Linked DNA regions of Homo sapiens: region 1 is linked to region 2. The links are contacts of gene promoters, found by promoter capture Hi-C in blood cells and fetal thymus (Javierre and others, 2016). All regions are on one chromosome and are shown on one strand. Each heading gives the region's core, a stretch centred on a gene start or on the middle of the fragment in contact. The rest is flanking DNA. Distances are from core to core; before and after follow the strand shown.

Evidence for each region. Contacts are between HindIII fragments. The CHiCAGO score rates a contact against its expected background, and 5 or more counts as called.
Region 1: a contact is called between a fragment that was not itself captured here and the fragment with the promoter of UBE2D1 in region 2, in 1 of 17 cell types (non-activated CD4 T cells). The highest score is 9.8, in non-activated CD4 T cells.

Annotation. Positions count from the first base shown.
Region 1 is chr10:56,361,474-56,365,786 of GRCh38, forward strand. It overlaps LOC124902546 (a long non-coding RNA gene), which reads left to right. Exons shown (of 2, transcript XR_007062372.1): 1 at 1-383; 2 at 2,552-3,246. Among named protein-coding and RNA genes, the nearest start is that of ZWINT, 2.4 kb to the left of the region's middle. RefSeq lists an enhancer at 1-235 and a silencer at 1-53. The HindIII fragment of the contact is 811 bases long and covers 1,164-1,974 here.
Region 2 is chr10:58,333,063-58,337,503 of GRCh38, forward strand. It overlaps UBE2D1 (ubiquitin conjugating enzyme E2 D1), which reads left to right and starts at 1,944. Exons shown (of 7, transcript NM_003338.5): 1 at 1,944-2,163. The coding sequence starts at 2,140. RefSeq lists enhancers at 1,608-2,108, 1,707-2,001 and a silencer at 1,809-2,328. The HindIII fragment of the contact is 6,404 bases long and covers 515-4,441 here.

The sequences.
Region 1 (4,313 bases), core at 319-2,818, 2.0 Mb before region 2:
CGGTGCCAGAGACTATAAGTGGGCTTGAGCTCGACCGCGCGCCTGTGGAAGTTCTTTCTCTACTCGAAAAAGGGAAAGCATTTCCTTGAGTTTGCGTTTTAAGGGAAACTTACAGCATTGACACTTTATTTAAAATATTCACTACTGCTGTAGAAAAAAAAAAACAAAACCCCGAAAAACAGTGGGGCTGTTTCTAAGACGCTGGGAATCAGTAAAGAATAGTGATCCGGGAGATACAGGAAGCAAATGATCTGCGCTCAAAAAGCGAGCTGCTTTCAAAGATATTAGTATTTTATAGATGCGATGCAGGAGAGTGAACTCAAGCAGAGCCCAGCCGATTGCCTGCGTTGGCAAAATAGAACAGATATTCTGGGGAGACCAAGGTAGGTAATGTTCTTTGCAGAGTACAGGAGAAAGATAACTGCTGAGAGAGAACTTGGTATTCATTCAGCTGAGTACTGAGCAGTATGTGTCTCAAGAAACTAGCTAAAAGATTTTTAAAGATACCAGGACATGGCCGGTCGCGGTGGCTCACGTCTGTAATCCCAGCACTTTGTGAGTCTGAGGCAGGTGAATTACGAGGTCAGGAGTTTGAGACCAGCCTGGCCAACATGGTGAAACCCCCGTCTCTACTAAAAGTACAAAAAAAATTAGTTGGGCGTGGTGGTGGGCGCTTGTAATCCCAGCTATTCGGGAGGCTGAGGCAGGAGAATTGCTTGAACCAGGGAGGCTGAGGTTGCAGTTAGCCGAAATTGCGCCACAGCACTACAGCCCTGGTGACAGTGCGAGACTCCGTCTCACAAAAAAAAAAAAATACATATATATATATATATAAATATATATATATGGACATTACAGAGGGTCAGAAATAGTCTCTATTTCCACTAACCAGGCTGGAAAACTTCATAGTCCGTAGGACACTGGACAGAGTACACACAAAAAAGTCTTGATTTGATAGTTGTTTACTAATTATTTAGTAGGCAGTAATTAGTCCTAGCTGATCAGTGCTGTAGTGCCATCTAACTCTTAAAAGTAAGACCCAAATGGATCAAACTTAACAAACCATGACAGATGACAAGACCAAACTTCAGCAGTATTTATAGAAATAGAAAAATGTTCACCAAAGGTGCAATTTACATATGTCATACAAAGAAAAATTACCAAGCTTGCAAAAAGAAAAAAAAAAACACATAATGAGGAGAAAAATCAATTGCTGATCAGAACTGAAGTAATGTTAGAATCAACAGGCAAGGACATTAAAACAGTTATTGTAACTATATCCCATATCTTCAAAAAGATATCAGAACTATAATGAAAAAGGTAAGTGGTGCTAAGGATGTAAAGAAAGTGGAATTCTCATGTTGATGGAAATGTAAACTGGTGCATAGGCTTTGAACGTAGGGTTACCATATGAGTCACAATTTCATTCCTAGTTATATATCCAAGACAAATAAAAACATGGGGACACAAAAGTACACAAACCTCTATAGCAGCATTATTCACAAAAGCTGAAAGGTAAAAACAACCCAAAGGCCCATTAGCTGGTGAGTGAAAATGCATACTTTCATTCAATGAAGTATTAATCAGTAGTAAAGAGAACTTTATTACATGCTAAATAATGGTTACTACATGCTAAAATATGAACCTTGAAAATATACTAAGTGAAAGAAGCTAATTACAAAAGACCACATAATATATTATTTCATTTATGTGAAATGTCTAGATTTGACAAATCTATAGCAACAGAAAGTAAATTTATATAGTGCTTGTCCAGGGCTGGGGATTGGTGGGAATGAGAGGTTGAGAGAGTATGGGGAGGGACTGCAAATGGATATAGTGTTTCTTTTAAAGGGATAAATAAAATGTTCTACACTTCGGTTATGGTGAAGGTTGTACAATTCTATACAGAAAACCGCTAAATTTACACTTTACTGCTGTCATAAAAGCTGTTAAAAAAGTTAATCAAAGACACAAAGCTTGTAATAAAGACCTAAATCAAACTTGTAGAGGTGAACACTACAATGTGATAGATGGAATTAGATGGTATTAATATAGTATGTTACACATTGCAGAATGAAAGTGAAACACAGCTCTAGAGAAACTACCCAAAATCAATCACAACATTAAAAAATGAAAATAAAGTAACATGAACAAATCAATGGTGAGCTGTGAGACAACTTCTAACAGCCTAATAATATACTTGAAAGTGGAGTCTCAGAGAGGCAAGGGGAGAGGACAAGAAAACAAGTAATAAAGACCAAAAAATTTGAAATGTGATGAAAAATATAAATTCATATATTCAAGAAGCTTCACAAATCTCAAACACAAGAAATATTAAGAAAATGACATCAAGTTATACCATAATTGCATAACTCAAAACCATTGATAAAAAATTCTAAAGTAATAAGGGGTGTTGGGGCACATGTTACATAGAAACAAAGATAAGGATTACGGGAAATTTCTTCTTGGAACAATGCAAGCAAGACAGTAGAGTAACATCTTTCAAGTACTGTAAGAATAAAAAAAAGTCAACCTTGATTTCTGTTTCCAGCAAACAGCTTTCAAAAATGAAGACTAACTAGGCTGGATGCAGTGGCTCACACCTATAATCCCAGCACTTTGGAAGGCCGAGGTGGGCAGATCACGAGGTCAGGAGATCAAGACCATCCTGGCTAACACAGTGAAATCCCCCGTCTCCACTAGAAATACAAAAATTAGCCAGGCGTGGTGGCGGGCACCTGTAGTCCCAGCTACTCGGGAGGCTGAGGCGGGAGAATGGCATGAGCCTGGGAGGTGGAGGTTGCAGTGAGCCAAGATCGTGCCACTGCACTCCAGCCTGGGTGACAGAGCAAGACTGTCTCAAAAAATAAATAAAAATAAAAAAGAAGGCTAACTAAAGACATTCTTAAACACACAAAAATGGAAGGAAATTTTCAGCATAAGATCCCACATGAAACAAGAAGTTCTTCAGGCAGAATGAAAATGGCATTAGCTTCAAATCTGAATGTATACAAAGGAGTGAAATGTGGTCCTGGCTACTTAGGAGTCTGAGGTGGGAAGATCACTTGAGCCCAGTTCAAAGCTGTGATGAGTTGGTCATGCCATTGCACTTCAGCCTGGGTAACAAAGTGAGACCCTATCTTTAAAGGAAAAAAAATTGTGATGTGGGTTTTATAACATATGTAAAAGTAAAATGTAGCACAAAGTGTGGGAGAGAAGAAATAAAAGTAAATTTATATGCTTGTATAGTTTCTCTGAAGTTTTGTTATCAGTTGAAGGTGAACTGATGAGTTAAAACTGTGTTCTAGACTCTCTGAAGCAATAGTGCCAACACACTTTAGAAGGGCTACCAGTGAGTCATTTCCTTGTGTGATTTCTTTCTTTCTAGTGCAGATAGAAATTGTGACCAATAGAATACAATAAAGGTGATGGGATGTCATTCTATTGATTAGGTTGCTTGTTAGGCAGAGGGGATAGCATGCCACTCTCATGCCTCCATTTCCATGTATAGCAGAAGCTTAGCAGACTGCACAAAAAAAAGAGGGATTCTCCTTCTGGCCTGGAAGAAGCATACAACCATGTTGTAAGTTGCCTGTGGTAGTTATCACATGGCAAGGAACTCTGAGTGGCCTTTAGGACCTGTAAATAGACCTGAGCTGATAGCCAATGAATAGATGGGGCCCTCAGTCAAACAGCCCTGAGGGGATTAAGTTTCTACAAATAATCAAATAAAAAATAACGCTACTCAGTTAACATCGTGATTGAAAACTTGTGAGACCTTGAGCAGAATGCAAAACCTTGACCCAGTGAAACTGTCTTAAAATCTTGACTTGTAGAAACTGTGAGATAATAAATGTGTTTTTTTAAGATTCTAAATTGTGATAATTTGTTACATAGCAATAGAAAACTATTATAAACTTCTAAAACAAAGAATTGTAGGTAACAAATCAATAAAGGAGATAAAATATAAACAACTAATCCAAAAGAAGGCAGAAAAAGTGAAGACGAACAAAGAAAAAAATGAAGAGAATAAAAAACAAATAGCAAAATGATAGGTATAAGCCTAAGCATATGTGTTATCACCGTTAAATGTAAATACCTTAAATATACCATTAAAAGGGAGAGATTATTAGATTGGATACCACAGCAAAATTACGTTAAGTACACTAAATATAAAGAAATAAAAGGATGGAAAAATACCATGCTAATATTAATCAGATGAAAGCTGAAGTGGCTATTTTAGGGCATATATATACACACACACACACACACACACACACACACACACACACACACACATATATATGTATATC
Region 2 (4,441 bases), core at 694-3,193:
TAGGAGATTAAATAACACACTGAACTACTATATGTTGCACATGTATTTGCATGTTGCAAAAATGTGTGTGAAATGTTTTGAAAAGCTTAAAGCAATTTTTTTTTTTTGAGATGGAGTCTCACTCTGTCACCCAGGCGGGAGTGCAATGGCTCCATCTCGGCTCAGTAAAACTGCTGCCTCCCAGGTTCTAGCGATTTTCCTGCCTCAGCCTCCCAAGTAGCTAGGATTACAGACATGTGCCAACACGCCTGGCTAATTTTTGAATTTTTGGTAGAGAAGGAGTTTCACCATGTTGACCAGGCTGGTCTCGAACTTCTGACCTCAGGTGATCCACCTGCCTTGGCCTCCAAAAGTGCTGGAATTACACGCGTGAGCCACTGTGCCCAGCCCATTTAAAGCAATCTTAAAGTGTAAACTATTATTGCAAGATACCAACGTAGATTTTTTTAATAAGTGTTAATTTCTCTTTTGTTGGGAGGTAAACTGCCCTAGGAAAGACAAAAATAATCTTGTAAGCTTACTTTTTAGGTTTCTTTCTATTTATAAAGAAGAGAAAAAAATCACCATTTTTTGTGCAAATCATAGACCTTTGAGTTAGAAGGGCACCAAAAGTTTCAGCTCTATTCCCTTTAAACAAATACAACATTTATTGCATTAGTTATGGGTGAGGAAATTGAGGCTTAGAAGGATTTGAAGATTTGCTCAAGGTGGAGATTCTCAAAAGTGTCCTCAGATACCTGCATCCTAACTTCCTGGGAAGTTTGTTCTAAAGTTTAGACTCCAGAGCTTCACCCAAAACTTACTGCTAAATTAAATCCTTTAAAGGAAATCTGCATTTTTAGGATCTCCTCTTATGCCTTCCAGCATAGTGCTTCTCAAACCCTAATGTTCATCTGAATCACCTAGGAGTCTTATTAAACTGCAAAGTGTGATGTAGCATGTCTGGAGTGGGGCTCAAGATTCTGTTTTTGTTTGTTTGTTTTTGTTTTTCAACTTTTATTTTAGATTTAGAGGCCACATATGCAAGTTTGCTACCTGGGTATGCTGTGTGATGCTGACATTTGTGGTATGAATGATTTTATCACCCAGGTACTGACAATAGTACCCAACAGTTTTTCAACCTTTGCTCCCTCGGTCCCCTCTCTAGTAGTCCACAGTGTCTATTTGTTGCCATCTTTATATCCCTGAGTGATATGGTTTGGCTGTGTCCCCACCCAAATCTCATCTTGGCCAAGAAGCCAAGTTTTAATGGGTACACAAGTGCATAGGAATTGGAGAGTGGGGAGCGTGAGTTGACTATTGGTCAGGGACTGTCAACGGAAGGGAAGGAACCAATGATGGGAGTGAGAGCCCAGAACTCGGTGTTCGAAGTGGGTAATTTATGGGAGGGGCATACCTACGAGCAGACAATGCACTCAGACAAGGAAGATTTGCACATTGGACAGAAGAGACACCTTTTTCCTCTGCAATAAGAACCAAGGAGGTAAGTAGGGGGTCTGATATGAGTTTGTGCATGTGTGCAGGGTGAGTGAGACAATCCATATATTTGAGAAAAGACAGTGAAATCTTTAAAGGTAAAAATAATAAAACCAGCTGTGGCACCTATTGGATAAGGAATTACTAACTGATGATTTAGAAATTCCTTTATGTGCGTTAGGAGCTCATTTGTTATCCCCATTTTACAGATGCGCAGCCCCAGGTTCAGCAATTTGCTCTAAATGAGACTGTAGAGGCTAATTCCAGCCCCCGGCAGCTCTCACCTTAAGCTGCCTGGCTGAGGTCAGCAGTAAGTTACCTGGCAGCGTCCGGGGGCCTGCAGCCGAGGACAGGGCTGGAACTACACTTCCCAGTGTGCCAGGCGGGGCGGGGCGCGGCGGGGAGGGCGCAGGCTCCTTCCCAGAAGCAAAAGCGGAAACAAAAGAGTCTCGCCGGCGTCCCCGCCCGCACACTCGCGCACACTCGCGCTCGGGCGCACACGGAGCAGGGACCGGCGCCCGGAGCGAGCCAGGGAGCGGCTAACCGGGGACCCACCGCGCGGAGCCAGCCTAGCTGCCAGCGAGCCCAACCCGCGACGACCCACGCCCCTGAGCCCCGCAGCCGACCCCTGCCGGCCGGTGTCCCCACCGCCATCCCTGACCCATGGCGCTGAAGAGGATTCAGAAAGTGAGTGCCGGGGCCGGGCCTGGGGCTGCGGGGCAGCGGCCCCCTGCCCACGCTGACTCGGCCAGTGGTCCCGAGAGACATGCGGGGAGAGCAAGGGATGGAAGGGTGGGCCGGGGTGCGGGCAGGGAGCTGAAGGCTCGGGCCGGGCCAGCGGGCATCGGACAGGTGAGGTGGGAGCAGGGTCAGGTCCCAGGCGGCCGGAGGAGCTTGAAGGCTGGGGGCCCGCGCGCGTTCGCGCCGGAGCCGCTCCCGGAGCCCCAGGGTAGAGAGCCTCTTGCGCGTCCAGACCGTCCCGAAATCTGTGCTTCACGGTCACGGCCGGGTTTTGCCCTCCATGGGGCTAGTTTTGACCCCTGTCATGCTGTGTTTTCTCCAGGCTGTTTCTTAAGCCTGTCCTCTTTTATGTTCTTGCTTACCCGGCCTCCCCGGGAGGGCAAGGAAGGTGGGGTGGGCCTGCAGCCTTTCTCCGCGGAGCTGTCGGGTTGGTTCTTTCTCTCCTCTGCGGTTGGCTCTTGCTCAGTTGCCCGAATGGGCTGGAAAGCCCATTTGCGGCCAAGAAGTCAGGAGAAGGCTCCTGCCCCTTCTATTTTGGTGCCTCTGCTGCTGCCACTTCAGGTCACATAGCTGTAGCGAAAACATAGTTGCTGATACACAACAAGATGACCTCCTGGCTGTGATTCACGGTGAGTCAAGCCAAACAGGTTTTTTTCCCCCTCATGATAAACTTAGATGTAAAGTTCGAGACACAACATAAACTGTCGCAAATAAATTGTTTTGATGCTTTGACACATGGGTATAGAATGAGGAAGAAATATATATCTTCATCCAACAACTGTTTACCCATCTCAACCCTGTGTATGGAATCGTCTTTTTTTCACAGTATTTATTGCCACCATTTCAGATGCGAACATCCTTCAGAATTCAGATTCGGGCATTTCTTTCTGTTCATTTTTATTTCTTGTTGGTCTGTGTACTGACCCAAGTTTTAGGTTTTACAGTTACAGTTCACACTGGCAACATTGAGAATGTGTTTGTTAAATAGGGAGTGCTTTTCACTAAGTTAAGCAACAATGGACAGTGTATTTTGTAGTTGTTTCAGAAGAAATTGATGCCCACATTTTTATCCACTTTTTTGACCAGGAGTCCATTATAGCAATAGTATATGTTAGAGCAGTGATAGTGACGTACGCATTGCATTCTGACTCGCCACTGGTGACATCTTTAGGTACAGAGGACAGCAACTTTTAGAGCCTGCCAGTTTTTTATTTTCAAATTCTAAATCTGTGGATCACCTGTTATTTTTTGTGCCATTTAAAGGTCATCTCATTGTAAAACATACAGTTAACAATCAGCATCAGCATTTATTAAGTAATAATGTTTTCTTGTTTGAAGGTAGCGCAATTACACATTGTTTTATATAAATACCCTAATTTTGAAGCCTTAGCATCTTTACCATACCTTGCATACTTATTAATGACGAAGTAATATTGGTTCACATTTGGATCAGAAAATGCACATCTTCCAAGGAAGTTTTCAAATTCTATTTCCTTCTTTCCTAGTTGTGAGAATTTTTCACATGATTTTGCACATACAAGAGCTTTTTAAATTTCATTGTGTTTTTTTAAGAGATGGGGATCTCACTATATTGCCCATGCTGATCTTGAACTCCTGGCCTCCAGAAAGTCTGGGATTACAGACACAAGTCACCATACCCAACTAACAATAGCTTAAGCTGTATAATTTGTCCACAGTAAGTGGATATTCAAAGAAATATGAACATTATTTGTAAATACCACCCTTGGCAGTTCTCATCAATCACCATGCTGAACTAGTGTATTTGATTTATATTTATAATATGGCGTGTGTCCAAATCTTTTTAGTATTTATTGGTTATTAGTTTATAGAATTGTTGAGTAAAAAAAAAAATTACTTACATAGAATTGATATCAAACATGTGACAAATTGATATTTTGGAAAAGAAATTGGGGATGACACACCATCACATCTCTGTGTGTTCATTTTTGGCTTCCCTTTCTGATATCAGGAAAATCGACTTACACAAATCTTCTTTCCATTAATCACACATTCAGACCAATCCCTCAAACCTTAGGGGTGATTATTTTGATTGATTCCCTACTTTTCCTCCTCCTTTACCTACCTCCTTGATTAGAAGCCAATTCTAGGTTAGATGTGCCGCCTGCCGTATGAACAGTTACACCATCTTCTTTGATGTCATCAGTATAGAATTCTTATTTGAATCTTTCATGTTCCAACAAAT